Regions from separate parts of the Homo sapiens genome. Here all the other regions are linked to region 1. The links are contacts of gene promoters, found by promoter capture Hi-C in blood cells and fetal thymus (Javierre and others, 2016). All regions are on one chromosome and are shown on one strand. The core of a region is centred on a gene start or on the middle of the fragment in contact, and the rest is flanking DNA. Distances in the headings are between cores, read along the strand shown.

Region 1 (6,569 bases), core at 2,177-4,676:
GGAAAATCAGGTCCTGTTCACACTTTCTAGGAGGGGACTCAATATCAATCAAAAACTAAAGACTACATGCAAAATAACAACTGGAATAATATAAGTTAAGGAGAAGAAGTGCAATGAGAAGCATCTAACAGGGGAGCTTTCACCTGGACTTAGGCATCAGATCAGGTTTCCCTGAAGACAAGATTAAACCAAGATGAGAACAAGTGAACAGGCATGAACTCAATCAACTGCAGGATGCCTGGTACATGAAGACTAACTGAACAGCCTAAGAGTGACAGCTCAGATTAAGGGAAACAGGAGAGATAAAGCTGGGGAGGTAGTGGGGATCATCCTCTACAGGGGGGCCTTAGGGATAAGACATTGATTGAAGGGGCTTCAAGAATCACTTCATTGTGGCTACTCAACAGAAGGGTAGAAAGTGGGTGTTGGTAGAGGGTCAGCAGATTTACATTCAGGATGCAGTAGTGGGAGGATACCTGATGATTGGCTGAAACCTGGGAGGGAAGTTTTGCTGGTAGAGAAGTTAAGAGAGTCAGAGATACCTGTTTTGAGGGAATCTAACAGATTGGCTACAGAGTACCAGGGACAGGAAGAGTTCAGATTTCCTCTGAATCTGGATGTCCAGATTTCCCACTCTGGCAACTGTATGGATAACCGTCACAGTCTACTGAAACAGGGAGCAACAAAAAAAGAGTCAAGTTTGGGATATAGGTAGGAGTTTGAGAGATCAGGAGTTTAATTAGCGGAAGATGAGAGGCCTCTGTAAAATCAAAAGATGTCAGTTAGGCAGCTGAATCATGGATCCTGAGCTCACAGGAGAGGTATGGCCTCCATGTAGAAACATGTAAGTTACTTGAGTAGACAGCAACTGAGGTCCTGAGTCTGGATAATCACTGGATAGGCATGATTGACAACTGTGTAGAAATGTGATCCCACAAAATCAGTATGATCCAAATGGAACAGACTGACTGTGGAAACCCAGCAAGGACTGTCCATTCGGATTCATCTTGGCCTCTCTGTCCAGCATTCCTTTCTCCTGTATATGGGGCAAGACCCCTTGTGAAATGGAGGTCTTACGATCTACAGTCAGACAAGGTAGGTCAGAGAATTTCTTCATGGCTAGTTCTAAGACAGAAAGGTGGGCCAAGATTCCTGTCAAGGGCTATGGGAGTTATGAGCCAGGAATGGTGGATGCAAACTATATATATATATATATACACACACACACACATACACACATACACACACACACACACATACACACACATACACATATATAATACAGTAAATATACTTTATATACTATATATTTAGATACTATATATAGTATATATACCATACATAAGTATATTTAGATACTATATATAGTATACCATACATAAGTATATTTAGATACTATATATAGTATATATACCATACATAAGTATATTTAGATACTATATATAGTATATATACCATACATAAGTATATTTAGATACTATATATAGTATATATACCATACATATTTAGATACTATATATAGTATACTATACATAAGTATATTTAGATACTATATATAGTATACTACACACAGTATCTTTAGATACTACAGTATACTACACATAAGTATCTTTAGATACTATGTGTAGTATATATACTACACATAAGTATCTTTAGATACTAATGTGTAGTATATATACTACACATAAGTATCTTTAGATATATATATCTAGTATATATATACTACACATAAGTATATATACTACACATAAGTATATATACTACACATAAGTATATTTAGATACTATGTGGAGTATAAATACTACACATAAGTATATTTAGATACTATGTGGAGTATATATACTACACATAAGTATATTTAGATACTATGTGGAGTATATATACTACACATAAGTATATTTAGATACTATGTGGAGTATATATACTATACATAGTATCTATGTGTAGTATATATACTATACATAAGTATATTTAGATACTATGTATAGTATATATACTATACATAAGTATATTTAGATACTATGTATAGTATATATACTATACATAAGTATATTTAGATACTATGTATAGTATATATACTATACATAAGTATATTTAGATACTATATATACTATACGTAAGTATATTTAGATACTATATATAGTATATATACTATACATAAGTATATTTAGATATATATACTATAAATAAGTATATTTAGATACTATATATAGTATACATTAAGTATATTTAGATACTATATATAGTATATATACTATACATAAGTATATTTAGATACTATATATACTATACATAAGTATATTTAGATACTATATATACTATACATAAGTATATTTAGATACTATATATACTATACATAAGTATAGATACTATATATAGTATATATAGTATATATACTATACATAGTATATTTATGTACTATACATATAGTATATTTATATACTATATGTAAGTATATATGTAAGTATATTTATGTACTATATATAAGTATATATACCTAAGTATATTTAGGTACTATATATAAGTATGTATACCTAAGTATATTTCTGTACTATATATAAGTATATATACCTAAGTATATTTCTGTACTATATATAAGTATATATACGTAAGTATATTTCTGTACTATATATAAGTATATATACGTAAGTATATTTATGTACTATATATAAGTATACAGAAGTATATTTATGTACTATATATAAGTATATATACTATACATAAGTATATTTATGTACTATATATAAAGTATATAAGTACATTTTATATATATTTTTATATATAGTTATATATAATATATGAATAGTTATATATATATAAATCACAGTACATTTATTGATGGGCAGGGTCCGTAGTTTACTCACTTTCATTTTCCCAAAGCCATAAACACCTGAACTGTTTCCTGCTGTTTCTGTCCTGGTCACAGCCTTCCAGCGTAGGAGCCAGGCCACCTTCCTTTTTGCCACCTGTCCCAGCACCGCGACTGCGGGCAGCACAGGACCTGGGCGCTGCCCCATCACTTAGAGTGACTACCTGGGCCTGGGGATGCACCAAGTTTCTAGGAGCTTTTCGGAGTTGGGGACATAAAAAGGGGCAATTATTCCACAGAAGCCGCCACAGAGGTTAAGTGAGGTCGCGTGAGCGAACCGCTACTCCAATGCCGGAACTGTTCCCGGTCGCCCAGGGCAGCTCCGGATAACGCAGCAGGCAGGGGTCACCCAGAGGCTGCCTCCACCCTAGGCGCCGACCGCGCACGGCGCTCGCGCCCGCTCCTGAGGAGGGAAGGGGCCTCCCTGGAAACCCACAGCGCCCGCTGAACCCGGAGGGTGCGGTGAGGAAAATAACGGTCTCACCTTGAGTCGGAGGACGTCCGGCTAGCTCTGTGAACGGTGTTACCGCACTCGTCTCTTCCGGAGGTAGAGGGGCTACTCGCAACAGGAAGTTCCGCCCTTAAAAACTCCATTCCTGAGGGGGCGTGGTTGCTTTGCTGGGCCCCGCCCCGAGCTGCGCCCTGCGAGCCTCTGCCAGGCCGGGCCGGGTCCTGACCCGCGCTGGAGCATGGGATACTGCCTCTTCATTCTAGCTTCTGGTTCTTTTCTCCTGCTTGTCTTTTCATCTCTCAGTTTTTAAACATTACTTCTCTCTTTACTTTGCCTTTTTCTTCTTTCGTCCTCCATTCATTCACGGTTTCCCATTTAGCTTGCTTTCTTCTTTCTCCCATTTATTCTATAGTACTATTTTGACAAAACCCAGATTGCAGATATGATTCCGATTATGCAGCTTTTAGGTGCTAACCTAAAGCTGGTAAACCTATACTAGATTAAAAAAAAATAAACTGATAACCAGAACCAACTGCCCAATTCTTGATAATTTACTTACATACTATTTATTGAGGACTTACTATGCTTCAAGCAATTGTGTGGGGTTTTATTGTTTTGTTTTTTTGAGACGGAATTTCACTTTTGTCGCCCGGGCTGAAGTGCAATGGCGCGATCTCGGCTCACTGCAACGTCCGCCTCTTGGATTCAAGCGATTCTCATGCCTCAGCCTCCTGAGTAGCTGGGATTACAGACGCCTGCCACAACGCCCGGCTAATTTTTGTATCTTGTAGAGACGGGGTTTCACCATGTTGCTCAGGCTGGTCTCAAACTCCTGGACTCAAGTGATCCGCCTACCTCGGCCTCCCAAAGATTACAGGCATGAGCCACCACGCCTGGCCGAAATGTGTTTTTATATGCATTATTTTCCTTAAAGTTTTAACAGTTTCTTGAAAAAGGTATGATTAGCTTTGTCAGACAGATGAGGAAACTGAGGCTCAGAGTAGTTAAGTGATTTGTCCTCAGGTCACACAGCAAGAGCAGAGAGTGAAACACACTGAGTTCAAAGTTTTGGGGTTCAGAAAATGATACCCCACAATGAAGGCCTCAGAAGCAGCCTTAGAAGGAAAAATTTTCCTCTGACTCCTTTTGGTCTCCTGTCTCTGGTCCCACATTCTTCCCCAGACTAGTCATAGAAGCTAGAATTCCTCTTTCCCAAATCAGGTCCCAGAAATCAGGACCCCTTTTTTATAAAGCCAGCCATAAAACATAAAAATACTACTCTAGGCCAGGCAAGGTGGCTCACGCCTGTAATCCCACCACTTTGGGAGGCCAAGGCAGGCGGATCACGAGGTCAGGAGATCGAGACCGTCCTGGCTAACACGGTGAAGCCCCGTTTCTATTAAAAACACAAAAAAATTAGCCGGGTGTGGTGGCTGGCACCTGCAGTCCCAGCTACTCGGGAGGCTGAGGCAGGAGAATGGCATGAACCTGGGAGGTGGAGCTTCCAGTGAGTGGAGATCGCGCCACTGCACTCCAGCCTGGGCGACAGAGGGAGCCTCCGTCTCAAAAAAAAAATATATATATATAGAGAGAGAGATATAGATAGATAGATAGATAGATAGATAGATAGATAGATAGATAGATAGATAGATATTACTCTAGCATTCTCCCTGTGTTTCTATGTAAAATCTGACCACGAAGAAATTATATGACTCACCCTGTCTGAGTTTAGGTCATAAGACCCCCATTCCAAAGAGGGTCCTATGGAGAGAGGCCAAGAAGAATCTAAGCAGACAGGTCTTACTGGATTTCCCCAGTCTAATAGCATTAGGTTATACCCTCTTTGTCCAACCATATTCTACACAGCTGTCCATATGCTGTTGAAACTAAGCATAAAATGGACTGTCCCCTTATACCTTTGGGTCTTCATTCTGAAGGCTCCCAAGTCACATAAAACTATGATCAAATAAAATCCTTTTCTTCTATTTATCTGCCTTTTGTCAGTTGATTTTCACCAAACCTTCAGAGGACAAAAGGGAAGTTTTTTCTTTGGCCCTACAAAAGTTTACACACTGAGAATATATGGCACAATGAGATCACATTATATGAGGTACAAGGACTAGTTATGGTCTTAAAATGTTTCTTCTTCTTGAAAGAGTTGGCCAGGTGCAGTGGCTCATGCCTGTAATCCCATCACTTTGGGAGGCCAAGGCAGGCAGATCACCTGAGGTCAGAAGTTCAAGACCAGCCTGGTCAACATGGTGAAACTCTGTCTCTACTAAAAATACAAAAATTAGCCAGGCATGGTGGTGGGTGCCTGTAATCCCAGCTACGAGGGAGGCTGAGGCAGGAGAATCGTTTGAACCCCGGAGGTGGAGGTTGAAGTGAGCCGAGATAGCGCCATTGCACTCCAGCCTGGGTAACAAAAGTGAAACTCCATCTCAAAAAAGAAAGAAAGAAAGAAAGAAAGAAAGAGCGACATCGTGGTACATACACCATCATAGTGCAAAAAGCATTGCACAGATATAAGATGTCCTAGCTACAACTGGACCAGGAAAGTAAGTTAGTTATTTGGCTCTTTGCTTAGGAAGTTACTGTTTCTGTTTGTTTAATCAAAAGACAAAATGTCACCAATATATTTCAAATGAAATGTCTTAGAGATGAGTAATTTGGACTGGACTCAATTCTCACACCTCACAAGGACCAATAAACATCTTTAATCCAAAAAGAGTGATGCCTTAGGTATCCGGTTTGGATGTCTATCAAATGATACTTTATTTTCTTAGAAAAAAAAAAAAGGCTTCTGAGGCTAGTTTTTCGGTTCTTCATTGCCAATCTTCTTAAAATAAAAATATTGCCAACCGCATGCTGACAAGTGCTCATTCGTAACCAACTAATATTTCCAAAGTTTTAACAGAAAAGTCATCGGTCATCTAAGTTTATGTAAATGAATGTGGTTTCAGTGACTTGAAAAAACTGCTAAAATCAGCATAAACAATTTGAAGTAAAATAAACTAAATATCAAATATCCCTTCAAATGAAAACCTTACAAGCTTCCTATGTCAGGTGAGCAGGAAGTCCAGTTTTTCCAAGAGGCCTCACCTCAACAGCTACTTCACATTGGTTCTCAGGTAACTCACTCAGTATTTTTCAGTCCAAAGAGGCCGTTCTGCTTCCAAATGCCTTACCGAAAGTGAAGTGAAAATCTGCCGGTGCACAGGGAAGTCTTAGTGTTCAGGCTCGATTATA
Region 2 (7,685 bases), core at 942-3,441, 1.7 Mb before region 1:
TTACAAGATTGTTGTAAGGAATAAATGTGTGGCCATATGTAAAGCACTCAAATAGTGTCTGAAGGTAAACAGACCCTGTCAAAAACTTTAGCTTCTTTAAAAATTAATTTCTTATAGACTCAGTCACCACCATCAAGTTTTATTGACTAATCTAGTATTTGTCAACCAAGATGATTTCCCCCCTGCCACCCCCACTCCAGGGGACATTTGGCAATGTCTGGAGATGTGTTTGATTGTCATGACTGAAAAATCAACAACTCTTCTTAGATGCATCTGAGAGGTGGGGGTCACAGGGAAAACTGCTGTTCTCAAATGTGGAGAGACAAGTGAATGCAGAGAACTACTGAAAAGAAGCCTCCAAGAAGAAACCTCTGTGGGAACCAGTGCCGAGGTAGGGAAACCCGAGCTGTAACTGGTGAATTGGTGGATGCTCAGTGGGACAAGTCTGAAAGTTAAAAACTCCAGAGAGACTCAGTTATTGGGGACTCTCACACTTTTGTGAGTTTTAACTCCAGGAGCTCAACCTGGTCCTTACAGTGAATATAGGAGAAAAATCCCCTTGTACTTCAGACGGCAAGTTCTGTGGGGAATAGAACTATTTTGAAATACATCAGAGCACTCTCTCTTATTCAACAATTCATTTATCAAACAGGTGTTGTCTTTTTAATATACATTAAGCACATATATAAAACTATCATGCATATGACATGTGTCCTCAAGGAAACTCTTCAACCAAAGCCTAAACACTTGTCAGAGCCTAAGTGTCCTGGAGGAAGGGAAATAACCAATTCTAGCTGGCACTAGTCATTCTGTCCTACCAAAAGAGAGGGAAACACTGAGAAGCAAATGTGCAGTTCATAGTCCAGAGGCACAGGCTCACTAGAAGACTGAGACCCACTCATAAGACTATAGAACACTTTCCCTCCCCACACACCCTATCACCACATTACTAAAGGCCGATTGACAGCCATTCCTTTTACCCAATACATCATGCCCAGCTATCAAAAAGAAATTACAAGATAGACAAAAAAGCAAAAAACACAGTTTGAAGAGACAGAGCAAGGATCAGAACCAGATTCAGACACAGCAAGGATACTGAAATTATCAGTCCAGGCATCTAATACAACTATGATTAAGACACTAAGGGCTCTAACGGAAGAAATAAGATGTAAGAACAGATAAGCAATGTACGCAGAAAGATGGAAATTTTAAATAAGAATCAAAAAGAAATGCTAGAGATCGAAAGCCCTGTAACAGAAATGAAGAATGCCTTTGATGGGCTTACAGGTAGATGACACAGCTGAGGAAAAAAAAAAACTGTGACTCTGAAGATACCTCAATAAAAACTGCCAAAACTGAAAAGCAAAGAGAAAAAAGATTGAGGGAAAAATTGAACAGAATATTCAAGAACTTTGGGACAACTACAAAAGGTGTAAACTAATGGGAATTCTAGAAGGAGAAGAAAGACAAATACAGCAGAAATATTTGAAACAATAATGACTAAGACTTTCCTTCAAATTAATATCAGACACCAAACCACAGATCCAGGAAGCTCAGAGGACATCAACCAGAATAAACACCAAAAACACTACATCTAGGCATATAGTATCATTTTCAAACTACAGAAAAATCAAAGATGAAGAAAAAATTCTAAAAGAAGCTTGGGGGGAAAACAGCTTTCCTACAGAGGAGAAAAGATAAAAATTATATCCAGCTTCTCCTCATAAATCATGCAATCAAGAAAACAGTGGAGTGAGATATCTAAAGTGTTAAGAGGAAACAAAAAAAAAAAATACTAACCTAGAATTCTGTACCCTGACAAGTTATCCTTCAAAAATGAAGGAGAATTAAAGACTTTCTCAGACAAATAAAAATTGAGGGAATTTGTTGCAAGTAGACCTGCCTTGCAAGAAATGTTTAAAGAAATTCTTTAGAAAGAAGAAAATTATAAAAGTCAAAAACTCAGATCTACATTACATAAAGAAAGGCAGAACACAGAGAAGGAATATGTGAAGGTAAAATTAAAACTTTTAAGTTTTTAATTAGTAATTGATCTAACAATTAACAGTTTGTTCATGTTAAACAATTTGCTAATAATAAAAGGGTTAATTATCTGAAGAAGTCGGAATAATCCTTAATGTGTACATGCCTAAAAATAGTCAAAAACCATGAGGCAAAAACTGACAAAACTGCAAGGAAAAATAGATGAATCATTACAGTTGGAGACTTTAATGTCCCTCTATCAGAAAAGGACAGATCCAGCAGGGAGAAAATCACTCAGGATATAGCTGAACTCAACAACATCATAAATCAACTGGATATGATGGACATCTGTAGACAATTTCATCCAGCAACAGCAGAATATATATTCTTCTCATGCCACATGAAACAGTCACCAAAACAGACCACATTCTGGACCATAAAACACACCTTAACAAATTTAAAGGAATAGAAATCATGCAATGTCTGCTTTCAGACCACACTAGAATTTAACTAGAAATCAGGAATAGAAAGATAGCTCAAAAATCCCAAAATTCTTAGAGTAAACAAATACACGTCTAAATAACATGAGTCAAACAAATCTCAAGAGAAATTTAAAAATACTTTGAACTAAATGAAAATGAAAACACAACTTATCTAAAATAAAAATTAGCACAGAAAGCAATGAAACTGAAAACAGGAAATCAATAGAATCAACGAAAGCAAAAGTTGGTTATTTGAGGTAAGCTTCTAGCCAGACTAAGAAAAACAAAAAGAGAGGACACAAATTACTAATAATAGAAATGAAAGAGAGGACATCACTACATATCCCATGAACATTAAAGAAATACTATAAACAACTCTATACCCACAGATTTGATAACCTAAATTAAATGGATTAATTCCTTGAAAGACAAAGTCTGCCAAAATTCAAGTAAGAAGAACAGATAATCTGAATAGGCCTATGTCTATTAAAGACATTAAATCAGTAATTAATATACTTCCAAAACAGAAAGCCCCAGGTCCATATGGGTTCACTGGTGAGTTCTACCAAACATTTAAAGAAGAAATCAAACCAATTCTCTACAATCTCTTTCAGAAGATAGGAGTGGAACTTATCCTATGAGGACAGTAATATCTTAATATCAAAACCACACAAAGACATTACAAGAAAAGAAAACTACAGACCAATATTTCTCATGCATGTAGATGCAAAAATCCTCAACAGAATATTAGCAAATCAAATCCAACAACATATAAAAATTATATACCACAACTGAGACTTACGACAGGTTTAACATTCAAAAATCAAAATGTAGACAAAGCATTAATAACCAGGATATATAAGGAGTTCAAACAACTCTATAGGAAAAAAATTCTAATAATCCAACTTTAAAATAGGCAAATAATCTCACGCCTATAATCCCTGCACTTTGGGAGGCCGAGGCGGGCGGATCACAAGGTCAGGATATCAAGACTATCCTGGTTAACATGGTGAAACCCCATCTCTACTAACAATACAAAAACAAAACTAGCAGGGCATGGTGGCAGGCGCCTGTAGTCCCAGCTACTGGGGAGGCTGAGGCGGGAGAATGGCATGAACCCGGAAGGAGGCAGAGCTCGCAGTGAGCCGAGATCGTGCCACTGCAATCCAGCCTGGGAGACAGAGCAATACTCTGTCTCAAAAAAAAAAAAAAAAAAAAAAGGCAAATAATCTGAATGGACCTTTCTCGAAAGAAGACATACAAATGGCAAACAGGCTTATGAAAAAGTGCTCAACATCATTATCATCAGAGAAATGCAAATCAAACCTACAATGAGATATCATCTCACCCCAGTTAAAATGGCTTTTATCCAAAAGACCAGCAGTAATACATGCTGATGAGGATGTGGAGAAAAGGGAACCATCATATACTGTTAGCGGGAACATAAATTAGTACAACCACTCTGAAAAACAGTTTGAAGTTCCACAAAAAACAAATAACCAAAACTAAAAATAGAGCCACCATATGATCCAGCAATCCCACTGCTGGTTTTATACCCCAAAGAAAGGAAATCAGTATACTGAAGAGACATTTCCCATGTTTGCTGTAGCTCTGTTCACAATAGCCAAAATTTGAAAGCAACCTAAGTGCCCATCAACAGATGAATGGATAAAGAAAATGTGGTACATATACACAATGCAGTACTACTATTCAGTCATAAAAAAGAATGAGATCCTGTCACTTGCAACAACATGGATAGAACCAGAGGTCATTACGTTACGTGAAATAAGCCAGGCACAGAAAGACAAACTTTACATGTTATTATCTGTGGGAGTTAAAAATTTAAACAATTGAACTCATGGAGACAGAGTAGAAGGATGGTTACCCAGACGCTGGGAAGGGTATTGGGGGTTTGTACCTATTAACCATCCCCACTCCCCTATATGTGATATAGTATACTTATAGTATATAAGGGGGTGGGGATGGTTAATGGGTACAAAGAGTAGTTAGAAAGAATGAGTAAGACCTAGTGTTTGAGAGCACAACAGGGTGATAAGCAATAATTATTTAACTGTATATTTAAAAATAACTAAAAGAGTTTAATTTGATTGTTAACACAAAGAGTAAATGCTTGAAGGAATGGATACTCTATTTACTATGATGTGATTATTACATGTTATATGCCTGTATCAAAGTATCTCGTGTGCCCCCTAAGCATATACACCTACTATGTACCCACAAAAATTAAAAATAGAAAAAAAATGTAATCCATCACATCAATTGGCTAAAGAAGAAAAATCACATGGTCGTATTTCATTTCGTCAAATGGAAAAGCATTTGACAAAACCCAATACCCATTCATAATAGTAACTCTCAGAAAACTAGAGAAAGCTTCAACTTCCTAAAGAATATCTACAAAAAACCTACATATGTAATGGTAAGTAACTTGAAACTTTTCCTACTAAGCACAGGAAGAAGGCAAGGATGTCCCCTCTCATCACTGCTTTTCAACATTGTACTAGAAGTCCTAGCTAATGCAATAAGACAAAAAGAAAAAATAAAAGTATACAGATTGGGAAGGAAGAAATAAAACTGTGTATGATCATGGATGGCATGATGACCTATGTAGAAAATCAAAAAGAATCAACAAGAAAAAAACCTCCTGGAATAAGTAATTACAGCAACATTACACAATATAAGGTTAATATACAAAAAACTATGTGGCCAAAGTATTGGTAGTCATTAATGTGTAAACCAAGAGTATGAGACAGGTCTAAATCAATTTGGAAAGTTTATTTTGCCAAGGTTAAGGACACGCCCATGACACAGCCTAAGGAGGTCCTGAGACACGTGCCCAAGGAAGTCAGGGTACAGCTTGGTTTTATACAATTTAGGGAGACATGAGACATCAATCAATACGTGTAAGATGTACATTGGTTACACTGGTTCAGTCCAGAAAGGCAGGAGAACTAGAAGCAGGTTGCGAGGGTGGCTTCCAGGTCATAGGTAGATTTAAAGATTTTCTGATTGGCAATTGGTTGAAAGGGTTATTATCAATAGAAAGGAATGTCTGCGTGACCATAAGGCATTGTGGAGAGTATGGTTTTATCATGCAGATGAAGCGTCCAGGTAGCAGGCTTCAGAGAAAACAGATTGTAAATGTTTCTTACTAGACTTAAAGAGTCATTTCTATCACTAATTCTGAAAGGAGGGAGGTATAATGAGGCACGTCTGGCTCCCCCTTCCCATCACGGCCTGCACTAGTTTTTCAGGTTAACTTTGGAACGCCCTTGGCTGACAGGAGGGGTCCATTCAGATGGTTGAGGGGGCTTTAGAATTTTATTTTTGGTTTACAAATGTAAATGCTGGTCAATGAAAATGGTAAGTATGAAGAAAAGAGAAAAGCTGTGAGCCAGATGCTGACGAAAAATGGAAAGAATTGAAAAGATTTTTATCAAGGAGCCTTTTTAAAGTATTTCTGATAGAACAGTAGTCTGAAATGGTACTGAGAAACGAGAACGAAGATGAGTCATTTTTTCCTCCTAGCCTTGAGACCCGTTGCAATCTATACTAGGGAAGACCAGAAGGGAAGCAGTGTTATCAAGGGAAACCAAGAAAGCAAGCAAGAAATACTTGTAGAGAAGGTTAAAGGGGAGATTGTTCGTAAAAAGACATAGGAAATTTGTGGCCAACGAACACACATTTACAGAGCAGGCCTGAAGGAAAAAGGTCAGGTTGTAACAAAGAATAGTGATCTCTATCATAACCCATAGGACAGAAGAAGAAAACACTGGAATTTCTATTTGTTTTTTTTAACTTCACCTTCAAAATGTTTTTATGTGTAAATGCTTTAAAATGTATATAACAAAAGAAACTACAGTACGAATATATATATTCGCACACACACACTTTTTTTTTTTTTTTGAGACTGGGTCTCTTTCTGGCGCTAGGCTGGAGTGCAGTGGCACAATCTCGACTCACTGCAACCTCCGCCTCCCATGTTCAAGCAATTCTCCCGCCTTAGCCTCCCGAGTAGCTGGGACTACAGGCATGAGCCACCATGCCCGGCTAATTTTTGTATTTTTAGTAAAGACAGGGTTTCACCATGTTGGTCAGGATGGTCTTGATCTCTTGACCTCATGTTCCGCCCACCTTGGTCTCCCAAAGCGCTGGGATTACAGGTGTGAGCCACTGCGCCCAGCCACAAATGTATTTTTTAAGTAAATACTGGAACATCTGCTCAAAAATTTATTAATGAAGGGACATGATCAAAAAAGTTTAGAAATCTCTGTAATAGTGGTATATCGTGGGAGCAGGAGAAACATTATGCTAGATAGGGAAAAACAGTTACAAAAGGAGACTGGACAGTCAGTCTCTCTCTCATTTTATGAGCAGAGCTGTAAGCCAGATGCTGACAGATGCATAGACTGGGACCAAGGGATGCTTTTAAGGTTTCTAGTAAGACAGAAGTTGTCTGACTAAAGGCTAAGGTATGCAGGTAGGCATGTGGAACTTTACTTCTAACTATTCTTGGATTTTTCTGGTATTCTACACTGCATTGCTTCTAACAACAAAAAATTACCTTACAGGAAATAATGTGGGATAACTGTCACATGTTTATGGAATTCAATGGTCTTATCAGTGCTGGGCCCGAGAGACCAGTGAAATGCTCCCTTTAAAAAAAATTAACTTTCTATTTAAAAATCATTGTAGATTCACATGCAATTGTAACCAAGAATACATAGAGAGCCCCTGCACCCTTACCCAGGGCTCCCAATGGTAACATTTTAGAAGACTATAGTATGATATCACAACTAGGAAATTGACATTGACACAATCCACCAATATTCAGATTTCACCAGTTATACACGTAATCATCAATGCAATTTTATTACATGTAAAGGTTCTGTACTGGCCATCACAGTCAAAATGCAGAACAAGTCCATTACCACAAGGATTCCTTGTGCTGTCCTTTTGTAACTCCACATATCCCTTTTACCTCCCTCCTTCCTAACTCCTAGTAAGCACTGACCTGTTCTCCATCTCTATAATTCTGCCATTTCAAAAATGTTGTATAAATGAAATCACACCATATGTAACTTTTTGGGACTGGCTTTTTTTTTTTCACTCAGCATAATTCCTTTGAGTCATTCAAATTATTTTGTGTATCAAACACTCATTACTTTTTACTGCTAAGTAGTATTCCACGGTAAGGATGTA
Region 3 (7,541 bases), core at 860-3,359, 1.9 Mb before region 1:
ACAGACCCCAGTGTGTGTTGTTCCCCTCTGGCATTCACATTTCTGACTGAGGCTGTGTTTGCTTTGTTCTTACTGACTCTAGAGAAAGATACAGTCTTGGACAACGTTTTGAAAATAGAAGAGGCAAGGTTATTAAATGATCATTGCTATCATTCCCACCATGCTTCTCTTCAAAATTTCTAAATTTAGAACATTTGAATACTTTGTTTTCTAATCCATGTTTCATCCATAACAAAAATATGTGTAAAACGGGCATAAACAGGAAGCCAATGGTGAGATTAAAGTTTCTCAATGATCATTAAGGAAGATTTTCCTGCAACCAAGTTTTAGAATTGTCCCTTTGTCTGGCATCCTATAAGTTTCTGAGTCTGCAGATTTGGGATGGGTGAAGGGTATGGCTTTTATAATTAAGGGGAAAGGCTGCCTGTGAGCATAGCAGTGGGGAGGCTGAACTGGCAAGTCAAGAACTGCATACATGTGGTAATTCAACATCTAGAGATTGATGCCTTTAAAACATCTGTATCCATGTATCCATCACCCTTGGAAAGCCTTGGTTAGAACCTCTAGTGAAGCCCATTCACAACATTCAGGGTGGACCAAACTCTGCTTCAATATCCTGTATCTCAGGGAACTCATCTTCTCCCCAAGAAGTTTGTTTCACTTTCAGCCTACTGTAATCATTAGAAAATATCACAGGAGACTCTTGCCAAGTGAAAAATCAATCAACTGATAAGTTAAATTTGAGTGTTAAGTTTTTTAAAGTGTGGACTTTTTATTTGCCAATAAATTCTAGCTTTGCTTCATAACTGTTGGAAGATTTTGGATGACTGTCATCATCTTGCATAATCTCAGTTTATTCATCTGTAAACAGAAATGATAACACTGACCTTTCAGAGTAACCATTCTTAAAGATTACAGATAATGTGTGAAAAGCCCCCAGCACAATGCGGGGCGTGATACAAACACTAAATGAAGAATTATTGTCATTTAACTAATTCCTGAGCCTTCTAACTGTCCCATCATGCAGCTCACATTTCTAGTACTGTTCCAGGAAATGGTAAAACACTTAGTCAAATGCCTCACAGCAGTGCAGATACACTATTCTGCAGTATCCTCCCATAGCCCAGCACAGTAAGCCTTTTCCAAAGGAATGGAAGTTCGTAAGGCATGGCTTATTCTTTGTGAACTCTTGTTAGCTGCTGGTTTTCATCACTTTTATTTATTATTTGTTTATTTATTTGTTTGTTTTTGAGATAGGGTTTTGCTCTGTCACCCAGGCTGGAGTACAGTGGCGTGGTCATAGCTCACTGCAGCCTTGAACCCTTGGGCTCAAGGGATCCTCCTGTTTCAGCCTCTCCAGTAACTGGGACTACGGGTGCATGCCACCATGTCCAGCTACTGTTTTTTGTTTTGTTTTGTTTTGGTGGGGGGGTGGTAGAGACAGGGTCTCACCATGTTGCCCAGGCTAATCTGAAACTCCTGAGCTCAAGCGATCCTGCCACTTTGGTCTCCCAAAGTGTAGGGATTACAGGCGTGAGCCACCATGCCTGGGCATCACTTTTTTTTTTAATACATGCTCCAGGTGACCATGTTAATAATTCCTCTTAAAACGTTGCCCTGTATTAACATAAACTCATTGGTTAATAGCATAAAAAATCCACCTTCTCTTTCAAAAATTCATTCGTCCATTATCTCTTCCATGTTTCACTATTCCCCAAAATTATCAAGGCGGATATGACAATCCTCTGCACAAGCTTCTTCCATTTGCTTGGGTGTCATTTCTTGGACTAAACATGCACTTCTCCACTGAGTGAGGAATAAGAAATAGTGGGTCTTTTGAGGGTTGTTTTATTTTTACAATAACTGCTTTCAACCATATTCTGACAAATATCCCTTTGCTTTCTCTTAATCATGTCTTGGGCAGACCAAAGAATTTCCTTGTCATTTTCCATAAACAAAAATTCAGTCTATTTCAACATGTCAATCTCCTTTCTCATTTAAAACTTTCCCCATCCTGTCATCAGCTAAAATGTGGGAGGAGGACTTGGGGGTCAGGGAGAGCGGGAAGGGATATTGTCTACCCTTCAGCTCTTCTTCCTCCTCCAGCACCTCGGAGGGTCTGGGTGGGGATTCATGTTCTAGGCCAGTTCTGAGTCTAGTATTCCTCCATGCCTTCCCTTCCCAACGTTAACTACGCTAGCATTGAGGACGGGAGAAGAGAAAAGAGGGAGGGAAACATCTTCCCACATAAGTTGGGGGAGGCTGCCAGGAACCTGCGTTCTCACTTTGGCTCTGTTTTCCATCTGCTGCCGGAGGCTTCTGCTGATGTGATGCTTTCCAAGTGGGTGATGTGCGTGGTATTTTAGGGGAGATGTTCAGTTTCATCCTAATCCCCTGCGTTTCCAAGAACCACACCCTGCGAAGAGAAGGAGGCAGCTGTTTCCCTTCAGCTCTGACAGCAGCTCAAGCTTCAAACCCACTTTCTATAAATCCTGGAATCTCATGCAGCCACTGCAATCCCTCATAAACTTTCAACTCACCTACTCCCTACAGGGAGGGGAGAAGCTAGGCCACTCCTCATCATGTCCATGATCTCCTTTCTCATCCCTTTCCCCATCTTCTTAGGTGAGCTGGGATGAGGTTCAGCTATGGGGGCTACTGCTGAACATGGAAAGGATAGTTTAGGCTCCTATTAAAAAATCCTGTCAGAAATATTGGGTCCCAAGTTGATTTGCGTTCCTTAGAATATGAGGTACTTACCACTTCTGTGCACTCAGCTTATTACCGGACAACAGAAAAAGCTGTACTCAAAATCCTGTTACAAACCCATGGCTGCTTAATGGCCAGAACCATGGTGAGAATTGCAGGCCCCTTCCCATCTCAACCCCACGGGTCTCTGCCCTGTGCGAGGATGTGGGTCTCCACCTGAGAACCTCTGGCCTCTGTTTTCATAAGACCGTGTCTTTATATATGGAAACGAATAATTTCCTAGTCGCCCTTCAGCCTCCAACTTATCACAGACTATATCTTAGTTTCTTTAACTTCTTCAGGTTTAGTCTAAACGCTTCATCTGTGTTGCTGTCCTATAAACCCTAAGTGGTATGTACTCTGTTCTCATAATAGAACTTCTGTTCTTCTCTCCATTTTTATAAATACACTTGGCTGGGCGCAATGGCTCATGCCTGTAATCCCAGCACCTTGAGAGGCTGAGGTGGGTGGATCATCTGAGGTCAGGAGTTCAAGACCAGCCTGGCCAACATGACGTAACCCTGTCTCTACTAAAAATACAAAAATTAGCTGAGCGTGGTGGCATATGCCTGTAATCCCAGCTACTCAGGAGGCTGGAGTGGGAGAATTGCTTGAACCTGGGAGGTGGAAGTTGCAGTGAGCTGAGATCGTGCCATTGCACTCCAGCCTGGGCAACAGAGCAACTGTCTCAAAAAATAAAATAAAATAAATAAAAATACAGTTGCTGTGCTCCCCCATCCCCATCCCAAAGGTTGTACTAAAATGGGGGAAGATCAAAAACACTGAGACACCCTAATTGGAGAGAAGGTGGAAGTGAAGATAAATTGAAAGCCTATGTCTTCAGAGGAGAGTGGGGGCTTTTGTGGGGAATATAAGAAAGGTGGTTGGATGCAGTGGCTCATGCCTGTAATTCTAGCACTTTGGGAGGCTGAGGTGGGTGGATTGCCTGAGCTCAGGGGTTCGAGACCACTCTGGGCAACACAGTGAAACATCGTCTCTACTAAAAATACAAAAATTAGCCGGGCGTGGTGGCAGGTGCCTGTAGTCCCAGCTACTCAGAAGGCTGAGGCAGGAGAATTGTTTGAACCTGGGAGGTGGAGAGCGAGACTCCACCTCCAAAAAAAAAAAAAGAAAAGAAAGGTGACCAATATCCCTACATTCCCACTAGGCACACAGAAGTGGGAATAAATAAGGAAATAAATAAATAAGGAAATAGACTTGAAGAATGATGTTTGAGTTTGGTTTTTTTTTAAAGCAGAATTTTGGCTGGACGCAGTGGCTCACACCTGTAATCCCAAAACTTTAGGAAGCCAAGGTGGGAGGATCGCTTGAGTCCAGAAGTTTGCATACCAAGACCCTGTCTCTCTATAAAAATAAAAATAAATAAAATAAATAAAAGCAGAATTTTATAATAGTGAAGAGGAAGTACTGAAGTGAAACATAAAATTATCTTCCCTGGGAGTAGTGAAGGTGGGGGCTGGAGGATAAAGACCTGCCTGTCTGGCTCTCTTTTGCTCTGCTTTTTTTTTTTTTTTTTTTTTTTTTTTTGACAGTTTTGCTCAGGCTGGAGTTCAATGGCGCAATCTCGGCTCACCACAACCTCCACCTGCTGGGCTCAAGCAATTCTCCAGTCAACCTCCCAAGTAGCTGTGATTATAGGCATGTGCTACCACACCTGGCTATTTTTGTTTGTTTGTTTGTTTGGTTTTTTGTTTTTTTTTAGTAGAGATGGGTTTCTCCATGTTGGTCAGGCTGGTCTCAAACTCCAGGCCTCAGGTGATCCGCCCGCATCTGCCTCCCAAAGTGCTGGGATTACAGGCATGAGCCACCCTGCCCGGTTGCTCTGCTTCTTAGTGGAGACCAAGGGGGTGGATAGGATTCATTCACTCATTCAACAAATACTTACTGAGAGCCTCTAATGTGCTAGGCAATTTTAAGTGACAGAACTGTAGAAGTGAACAAACCAGGCAAAAACAGATAATAAACAGTCAATGAAGTATCTATTCTGTCAGATAATTCTGGGTACGGTGGAGATAAACAAAAGAAGAAAGGGAGGTAGGGAGAGGCAGATGTGGGGATGAGAGACTGAGAGTGGGATGATTGTTTTAAATAGAGTTGCAAGGAAAGACCTGGTGGGGAAGGTGACCTTTGAGCAGAGCCGCAAGTAGAGATTACAGATAGGTCAGCAGACCGTTGGGGGAAAAGCATTCCAGGCAGAGGGAACGGCCAACACAAAGGCCTGGAGATGCAAACATGTAGAGCACGTTCCCACAAGAGCAGACAGCAAGTGTGGCTGGAGCAGTGAGGAGGGGCGAGTGGTAGGAAATGAGGTCAAAGAGGATGATCAAAGCCTCAGATATGTCATTCTTTAATTTTATGATTCAGTGCTGCATTTATGGAACACCCCTAAGCACCAGAAACAAAACCATGCCCAGGGGAGGCATTTAAAAAAAAAAAATACTAAAAGTAGCTACAGAAACTGTTTGGGTATCAACTCTATCAGAGGTAAACGGCAGTCTCTTTCTGGCTAAAATATAACGTTTTCAAGTCTCTTCTGCTACATCAAGCCATAGATAACCTACCAACCATCTATGATTAAGAGTTTTCAAATTTAGGCATGGTCTTTTAACTTGACTGTAACAAAAAATACCAACATAGGAGTAAATTCAATGGGAAATTTTACAACCAAACTATAAAGAAGCCTAATGTGGCAGTGGATTAACGCAAAATCCAGATACCTGTCTGTGTTCCTCAGACTCATCTCTTAGGGACATTTGTTTACCTTGAATTTTGCTGGGATTTACAGGCTTGGGGGAACAGTTCTGTGACAAGTGCCTATCAATACCTACAGACAGCTCAAAAAGAAAGGCCTGGATTTCTTTTTCCTTGGCTTTCTTCTCGCCTCTCCCCACCCCCCGCCCCAGAGCAGAACACTGAAGGATCTGAGAGAAAAACCCTGCAGCTCATCAAGATCAAGGCAGGCATTATATTTCAAGTTGAAGTTCAAAACAGCTTGCTTTTTGCTGAGACGTCTTACTTCCTGAAATCAGATGATGCCTTTTAGTACTTCAGCGTGCTGAGTCACAAGCGAGCTACACACTCGCTCTTTCATTTCAGGCTGCCAGGCTGAGAACTCGTCTTCCTCCATGGTAAAGGGAATGCAAGGACCCAGTTGAGAACACCTTTGGAAGAGGTTTCTGTGAAGCAGAAACCTCTCTCCTTGCTTTATTTTACCTTGAGGAAATTGGACAGCCCAGAAGTAATTTTTTAAAAAACTCTGCACGTAATCTTTACATAATATCACCTACAGCTGCCTAAAGACTGCAGTGTTGATTTTATTTTAGCTTATGTTTACCCATTTATTGTAGCGTATTCAAAGCACGGATGACAAAGATATTAGAAAATTCTAGCCCTCCAGAGAGCCATTCAGATTAGAGCCCTGGAAGCTGAGAAATAGTTGTTGCCCATGGCTCAGTCTTGCTGGAAGACAGGTTTTGGTGAATTAGTGACTAACCAATAAAAATTGGACAATTTCACATAAAAAATCCAAATTTGGAGATGCCTTTGGAAACTTGAAAGATCTGCTAACACTGGACTAAAATTTCTGCATAGGAACAATCGGCGACTCCTCAGCCAGACCCGGAGACAGAATGGGTGCTGGGAAAATATGACGTCCTCCCTGGGTCATCACTCACCTGATACCACTGCATTCCTCCCCAGTAGTGCCTGTCCCCGTCACATGCACCTGGAACCCTCACCCAGTCCAGCCACTTTGACAGATGAGGAAAGTGGGGTTCAGAGAATCATAATGACTTATCCAGTGTCACCCAATTAGGTAAAAGCAGGAGCCAAAAATCTTTCCAAGATGCTCTTATTCCCTGGGACTCCAGTTGTAAATGAAATTGGGCCACATTTGAAGCAGTGTTTCAGATGATATTAGCTCTGAAGTGATTTTAATTATAAATCATCACCAGAAACTAATGAAGGCATCAAAGCTGTGATACTGGTATAGATGGGAAAGGCTGGGGAAAAGTATAACTAGGAGATAAAACATTTCCTGAGGGATTTCAAATTTAAGTAATCTATATTTAAAATATCATGATTTTAGTGAGTCACAGAGTGGGGCAATGAAAACCTGGATAAAAATCACATCCTCATTTAACTAGACTGAATAAATTGGAAACAATTATTCCTTGGATTTTTAGAGGCTTTTTTAAATACAAGAATTCTGCCCATCTATCTACTTCATCATATTGATTCATGGTAATACATTAAATGAAAATAAATGAGTAATTATTGAAGCCCTTCAAGATTCTTTATAACCAATGATTTATTTTCCTTATAAGGTAAACTTATGCATTCTCTGAAAAAATTTTGTTTATACACTGGTAGATGTATTATAAATGTACATATAATACAAAAATATGCTGGCCCTGATAACCCTGGTGTTATTTTTTTCCTAATTGCATCAACAGAATAGAAATGGGAGTTTTCCTGAATTAATTTTTCTATACACTATTGGTACATAGTCATACTCCATCCTGCTTCCTAGGAAGCTCACACTCCACCTGCACCATCCTCAGATACTTTTCACCTTGAAAGGGCTTGAAAAGAAACCAGAATATTTCCATGGAAAAGTATGTAATCTGGAAATGAACTGCCACGCCTCCCGCTAACCAGATATAGCGATCACTGATGAGACAAGTGGAACATGCTACATGTTTTACAGTTCCACAGCTCTTTCAGCAGAGCCAGCAAATGAGAGGCTTCACTTCTTACCACATTAGCAGCCA
Region 4 (7,149 bases), core at 2,666-5,165, 1.2 Mb before region 1:
ATTTTTTTGAGTCGGAGTCTCACTCTATAGCCCAGGCTGGAGTCTCACTGCAAACTCCGCCTCCCAGGTTCAAACGATTCTCCTGCCTCAGCCTCCTGAGTAGCTGGGACTGCAGGTGCGTGCCACCACACCCAGCTAATTTTGTATTTTTAGTAGAGATGGGGTTTCACCATGTTGTCCAGGCTGGTATGGAACCCCTGACCTCAGGTGATCTGCTTGCCTCGGCCTCCCAAAGTGCTGGGATTACAGACATGAGCCACCACACCTGGCCTAGAGCAGGTACTGTTCTGTTCTCACCATAGAAGCTATTTTGTTTGTCCACTGTCACCTGATTTTCATTCACCTTTGCATTCATTGCAAAGCCTCTGAGGCCTTTCTCTTCAATATATTTCTCTCCAAAAGTTCCGTAGGAATCTTAGAGAATCACATTTACAGTGGGAATTTTTTTAAAACGAGAAGACCATTGTTAAGTCTTTAGTTTAATCTGGCTGTGCATATCTTTATTTGAAGAAGCTCAGTGGGTTTGAGGTTTCCTATGCATGCCTGAGGCTTGTCCACCACTGTCATACATTATTTAATGCTTGTTTTTTTCACTTCAAAGCACTGTAACTGTTCAGTGTCTGATTTATACGATGGTGGTCATCTGAGGATGGAGTATTTTCTGTTAAAGGAATCACTGTTTTTAGTTGCCAGAGGGCAAAATGCCATAGTAATCCTGTGAAATGTTCCTCTGGCTTTTTAGATTTGGGTTAGCTTTCAGTGATAGGAATTTTGTGTATGTATGTGTGTGTGTGTGTGTGAAATTTTTACTGTGTGAAAAATCAAGTGTGTATATATAACGAATACTATATATCTTTTTCCTTGTACTTTATATCAAGTTTTAACAATAAAATCCCTGAGACAATTTAGTTAAATGAAGTATTAAGGGTAGATAGACTCCTTAGCTAGCACTTTGTTTTGTCTTAATGTAGAAGACCTTGACAGATTTCTCATTAGAGCTACGTTGTCTTTGTGCTGTATGGATTATTTCTGTTTAACAGTATGGTGGGAACCCTGTAGTGTTTTTAAATACACACACTTTTCCTTAAAGGAATAAATAACATCTTTTGGGTGTAGCGGTTGTTTGATGGTAACTAGTCAGCAGTAACCTCATTTAAAAAATTAATGCCACATATAATTGGAGTGATTTAAAGAAAAGCATTAATAATGAACCACAATGCATACTTTCAAAGATGACATTACTAGCAATTTTTATCAAGTATCTCCTAGCCATGGTTGTGTTAATGGACTAGTTCTATTATAAATTAATTGGTGGTCTAATATGCTTTATCTCTTACATCTGTTTTGTTTGTTTGTTTTTAAACGGAGTCTCACTCTGTTGCCCAGGCTGGAGTGCAGTGGCACAGTCTTGGTTCACTGCAACCACTGCCTCCTGGGTTCAAGCGATTCTCCTACCTCAGCCTCCCAAGTAGCTGGGATTACAGGCACATGCCACCACACCTGGCTAATTTTTTTATTATTACTAGAGACGGGGGTCTCACCATGTTGGCCAAGCTGGTCTCGAACTCGTGACCTCAAGTCCACCCACCTTGGCCTCCCAACATGTTGGGATTACATGGGTGAGCCACCGTGCCCAGCCGTCTCTTAAAAAGGATTATTTTCATTTCATTGATACCAGTTTGGTATCCGAACCTTGCTTAACTCACAAATTTGGTTCTATCCATGCCACCAGTGTTATTTGGTGGAAAAAATAAATGGGTCTCAAAAGAGCATTATGGTTAGGGTATATAATATGATATAGAACCAAGGACTGGTAAATTTTTACTGTAAAGGGCTAAAACAGTAAAAAAAAAAAAGACTTTCACCTTTGTTGGTCATAAAAGTCAGCTCATCAACTCTGCCACTTGTGACATGAAAGCAGTCATTTGTACTATGTAAACAAATGAAGGTAGGTGTGTTCCAGTAAAACTTGCCAACCCTTCGTATATAGCAGTGGTTCTTAATCATGGGTATGCACGTTGGTATCACTTGGGAGCATTACATGCCGTAAAGGGTCTCTCTTCTGTGGATTCCAATTTAATTGGTATGGAATGTGGTTTGGATGTGGAATTTTTTTTAAAGTTCTACAGGTAATTTTATGAGTTAAGGCTGAGATCAGCAAATATTACTATATTGGAAAGAGCCTAAATTGAGTCAAACATAATGAATTTAAAATTTAAAAATAAGCTGTGCCACCTACCCCCTGTAGTCCATGATCAAATTAAGCTCTTGTCCTCAGTTTCCTCATTAAAATATTGTGTTGATTTTATAGAATTATTATGAAAATGAAGTGACAAATATGAAATAACTCTTGGTCATGGCAATCCTCCTTAAACTTGGAAAAGACTATTGAGGTTATTCATATCAGTTTTCCGGTGCTGTGTACTTTCTACCAAATGCCAGATAGATGGTCTTAGCCTCAGCTTGATTTTTTGACTGCTTGTAAAGACTTCCCTAAGCAGCTTCCAGTGTAGGATGACTGATTATTAGGTAGTCATTTTAAATGTAGCCAAAATTTGCTTCTCTATAACTTCCTAATTCTGTCGTTGGGAATAGTGTAATTTATTATTTATTTATTTATTTATTTATTTATGTTTTTTGAGAGACAGAGTCTCCCTGTGTCACCAAGGCTGGAGTGCAGTTGCATGATTTTGGCTCACTGAAACCTCCGCCTCCCAGATTCAAGCGTTCTCCTGCCTCAGCTTCCCAGGTAGCTGGGACTACTGGCGTGCACCACTGCACCCAGCTAATTTTTGTATTTTGTATTTTTAGTAGAGGGTTTCACTATATGTTGGCCAGGCTGGTCTCAAAAACTCCTGACCACAAGTGATCTGCCCACTTTGGCCTCCCAAAGTGCTGGGAATACAGGCGTGAGCCACTGCGCTCTGCCTGGAATAGTATAATTTAAACCTAACCTAATTCCTCTAATCTACCTGATAACCCTTCAAATGTTAGACGTTTAAAGAGTCCTGTTTTTGTAGGCTATGTGCTCTTCTGCCCATCTTGTGATGAATACACACAATTTACTCTTTCCAGGCAAGTTCTGACCAATATAGAACATAGCCTGTGTTTACCAACGTTAAGGCCTTCCCAAGGTCATTCAGCTAGTAAGAGTAGAAAGAGGCAGGTTGCATATTTAGGACTATGCTGCATGAAAACCTTGAAATTAACTACTAAAGTAGTAGATTCCTATCTTTTTTAAAAAATTAGTTCCTTTTAACTTTAAAATATTTTTATGATCCCCTTCATCATTAGTTATGCTTTAATTTCCATTTATTGAGAAAACAGTTGTCCATGAAATAAATGCTTTTAAATAAATTTGAAGTTCTATAGCAAACATCTGAAAAGTCTTAGTGAATTGTTCAATCTGCAAACAATGCTTGGCATGTTTGGATTTGGCGGGGGTCTCTTCTAGTTACTGTGTCTTCCCTCAGGTCTTCAGCACAGAGTTTGTAAGATACAGTTCTAATAACGCTGTCTTGTATAATGTTGAAGCTTTTGTTTGGGTGCCTTTTAAAGATTGAGATAAGAAGGTGTACCCATAGCTGCAGGGTTTTTATTCAGATGGTATTTTTTTATCTTGAAATTAACATATTTGTTGTTTGACTCACTACAGAGTCATATTTGTTGTTTGACTTCACTTCAGATCATTTCTTTTACACAAGAATACTTTGAAGGTAGAACTCAGAAAAGTTAGAAATTTCTGTCCTAAGAGAATATGCACATACTGGGATTATGGAATAATTAAAACTGTCAGCAAAAACTAAAATCTGGGTAATCAAATAAGGGTAAAAATGATGTCGTGAGTGAATTGCTCTGATAATGTAAAAATTTCAAAATCCTTGTCTTGCTGATTTGCAACCAGGAAACATTAAATTTTAGCCAAATAAAGTAGATAACCTGAGATTAGAAATTGAATTACAGAAGTACAGATAACTAGTGCCTAAATTTGTTTTACAACGTGTATTCACACATGTTGTGTCCCGTTTAACTAGAACAAGTCAGGTGTTAATCTGATTTTTTAAAATCACTTTATTTTGCGGGCTCATGGAACATGGTTTTCTGAGCCTAGATTTTTAAATTTATACCTGTCATACTAGCAACTTCTACCTATTATAAATAATTTTACTCTGTATGTACGTTGCATGCATACATACCTTATTTTGAAATGACAAAAGAAACAAATTAGCAAAATAAAGTAAAATTGGCAAAGAAGTTAAGAGTGCTCATCATGGATATAAATGTGGTTGCCCTAATTAAGCTTTTAATTGGCTCTAAGATACAAAACAGCCTTACTCAAAAGAGAAAAACATACCAGTTCTACCAGGATGACAAACTTCCTGGTACTGACTTCTGAAAGGAATTTCTCCAGTGGGATTTTTTTATGTAGTTGACACCAAGTAATATAATGGACAGTTTCCTTAGATGTTTTCTAGTAAATGCAGCAGTCGATTATTATATTTTTAATCTTTGCCACAAGCTGATGTAGTTCTATGTAAATGATTTTTTTTCCTTATGCCATACGAATACTCAAATGTAAGGTAATTTTAGTTGATTAAAAGATAAAGTTTAGAATTCTTTTAAATAACCTGGAAGTTTCTTTCACCTAGACTTATGATGGAAAAATAGTTTTGCAGCATTTTTAGGTTTGCGTTAATCCTTACAAGTAGAGTTGAAATCAGGTTTAAGCTTTGCACTTATTTGTGTAATTGCTTTTTTGGTAAAAAAGCATACAATTTGGTACTTTGAAAACTATTTTGAGAAAAGAATATCCAAACTAGATAGATATAAGAAATCGTAATAAGGCATATATTTGAGGCAGAGTCTTGCTCTGTCACCCAGGCGGAGTGCAGTGTCATGATCATGGCTTACAGAAACCTCAACCTCCTGGGCTCATGTGATTCTCCCGCCTCACTCTCCCGCAATCAGCCACACAGAGTACTTGGAACTACAGGTGGGCGTGCACCACTATGCCTGGCTAATTTTTTTTTTTTTTTTTTTTTTTTAAGTAAAGGTGAAGTCTCGCTTTGTTGCCAAGGAGACTGGTCTCAGGCTCAAGGGATCCTCCAGCCTCACTTCCCAAAGTGCTGGGATTACAGCCTTGAGCCACTGTGTCCAGTCTAAAATATGTTTCAAAACCATGGGACATGGCTTTGGTGAAGGAGACTTGGGCTTTAGATTCAGTTTTGCCACAATGCTAGCCTTGAGTGTATCCCAGACAGCCTCCCTAATGGGAAAGAAGTAAAATTTCTACCTTAAAATTCTGAAATCTTAATAGTTCTGAGGACCCAAAGCTTTTTCTTAATCATTTTGGCAACAAATCAGCTATTTATATTTTTTTACTTCCTTAAATGTGAATATTCATGGGTTTTTTTTCTTTTTTTCTTTTTTCTTTTTTTGAGATAGAGTTTCACTCTTGTTGCCCAGGCTGGAGTGCAGTGGCGTGATCTTGGCTCACTGCAACCTCACCTCCAGGGCTCAAGCAATTCTCCTGCCTCAGCCTCCCGAGTAGCTGGGATTACAGGCATGTGCCACCATGTCTGGCCAATTTTGTATTTTTAGTAGAGACGAGACGGGTTTTTTTCATGTTGGTGAGGCTGGTCTTGAACTCCTGACCTCAGGTGATCCACCCCCCCCCCAACCCCCGCCTCAGCCTCCCAAAGCGCTGGGATTGCAGGCGTGAGCCAGCACGCCCTGCAAATATTCATGTTTTATTGTATAAATATTAGTGTTTTGTATAAATATTCATGTTTTCATTATAGGGTGCTACTCCAGACCCCACATGGGGTGTTACAGTCATAGCTATAAAATCTGAAAAATTCTGCATTCTAAATCTTACCCCAAGGGTCTCACGTAACAGATTTATGGATCTGAATTAGTTTTTATTCTCTTAGGAGATTCCGAGTGTTTTGCTAAACCTCTTAGGCATCCTATGGAGTATGCTATGAAGGATGAGATGCAAGTCAGAATTTAATTTCATTTTTCATTAGCAACTTGGGGGGGTTCTAATAATTAGGGGGAGGGTGCTGAAGGCCAGATGCTTACTTATGTATTTATTTATTTTATTTTATTAAGAGACAAGATCTCCCTCTGAGGCCGGGTGCAGTGGCTCGCGCCTGTAATCCCAGCACTTTGGGAGGCCGAGGCAGGTGGATCACGAGGGCAAGAGATCGAGATCATCCTGGCCAACATGGTGAAACCCCATCTCTACTAAAAATACAAAAATTAGCTGGGTGTGGTGGCGCGCGCCTGTAATCCCAGCTACTCGGGAGGCTGAGGCAGGAGAATCACTTTAACCCGGGAGGCAGAGGTTGCAGTGAGCCAAGACCATGCCACTGCACTCCAGCTGGGTGACAGAGCGAGACTCAGTCTCAAAAGAAGAAAAGAAAAAAAAAACAGCTGGGCACGGTGGCTCACGCCTGTAATCCCAGCACTTTGGGAGGCCGAGGCGGGTGGTTCACAAGGTCAGGAGATCGAGACCATCCTGGCTAACACAGTGAAACCCCGTCTCTACTAAAAATACAAAAAAAAATTAGCCAGGCATGGTGGCGGGCACATGTAGTCCCAGCTACTTGGGGGGCTGAGGCAGGAGAATGGCTTGAACCCGGGAGCAGAGGTTGCAGTGAGCTGAGATCGCGCCACTGCACTCCAGCCTGGGGCACAGAGCCAGACTCCATCTCAAAAAAAAAATCTCCCTCTGTCACCCAGGCTGGAGTGCAGTGATCATAGCTCACTGCAGCCTCAAATCCCTGGGCTCAAGTGATCCTCCTGCCTCAGCCTCCTGAGTACCTGGGCACACCTACAGGCATGGGCCACCACTCTTGGCTAATTTTTTTTAGATTTTTAAAATAGAGACAGGGTCTCGTTATGTTGCCCACACTGGTGTCCAGCTCTTGGGCTCAACTCTCCTCCTGCCTCAGCCTCCCAGAGTGCTGGGGTTGCAGGCATGAGCCACTGTACCCAGCCCTGATGCTTATTTTTAAAAATAAATAATAGTTAATGAGTTATATGATATACTAATGCATAAGAATCTTCAGTATTTAATTTTAAAAGATGGTAGTAGGCAACCATATGGTAGGTGAAATAGTAGTCTGCCACTGTTTCCCCTTT

What was found. Contacts are between HindIII fragments. The CHiCAGO score rates a contact against its expected background, and 5 or more counts as called.
Region 2: a contact is called between a fragment that was not itself captured here and the fragment with the promoter of IMPA1 in region 1, in 1 of 17 cell types (total CD4 T cells). The highest score is 5.2, in total CD4 T cells.
Region 3: a contact is called between a fragment that was not itself captured here and the fragment with the promoter of IMPA1 in region 1, in 1 of 17 cell types (total CD4 T cells). The highest score is 5.8, in total CD4 T cells.
Region 4: a fragment that was not itself captured here is called in contact with the fragment with the promoter of IMPA1 in region 1 in 1 of 17 cell types (naive CD8 T cells); the score reaches 5.2 in naive CD8 T cells.

What each region holds. Positions count from the first base shown.
Region 1 is chr8:81,682,899-81,689,467 of GRCh38, forward strand. It overlaps IMPA1 (inositol monophosphatase 1), which reads right to left and starts at 3,427. Exons shown (of 9, transcript NM_005536.4): 1 at 3,354-3,427. RefSeq lists an enhancer at 3,173-3,673. The HindIII fragment of the contact is 6,947 bases long and covers 1-6,371 here.
Region 2 is chr8:80,014,633-80,022,317 of GRCh38, forward strand. The region is part of intron 5 of TPD52-MRPS28 (TPD52-MRPS28 readthrough); the gene reads right to left. The region is part of intron 1 of MRPS28 (mitochondrial ribosomal protein S28); the gene reads right to left. Among named protein-coding and RNA genes, the nearest start is that of MRPS28, 12 kb to the right of the region's middle. RefSeq lists a silencer at 2,122-2,416. The HindIII fragment of the contact is 1,067 bases long and covers 1,659-2,725 here.
Region 3 is chr8:79,755,269-79,762,809 of GRCh38, forward strand. No RefSeq gene overlaps it. Among named protein-coding and RNA genes, the nearest start is that of HEY1, 8.7 kb to the right of the region's middle. The HindIII fragment of the contact is 714 bases long and covers 1,753-2,466 here.
Region 4 is chr8:80,500,895-80,508,043 of GRCh38, forward strand. The region is part of intron 2 of ZBTB10 (zinc finger and BTB domain containing 10); the gene reads left to right. Among named protein-coding and RNA genes, the nearest start is that of ZBTB10, 18 kb to the left of the region's middle. RefSeq lists an enhancer at 2,323-2,823. The HindIII fragment of the contact is 766 bases long and covers 3,533-4,298 here.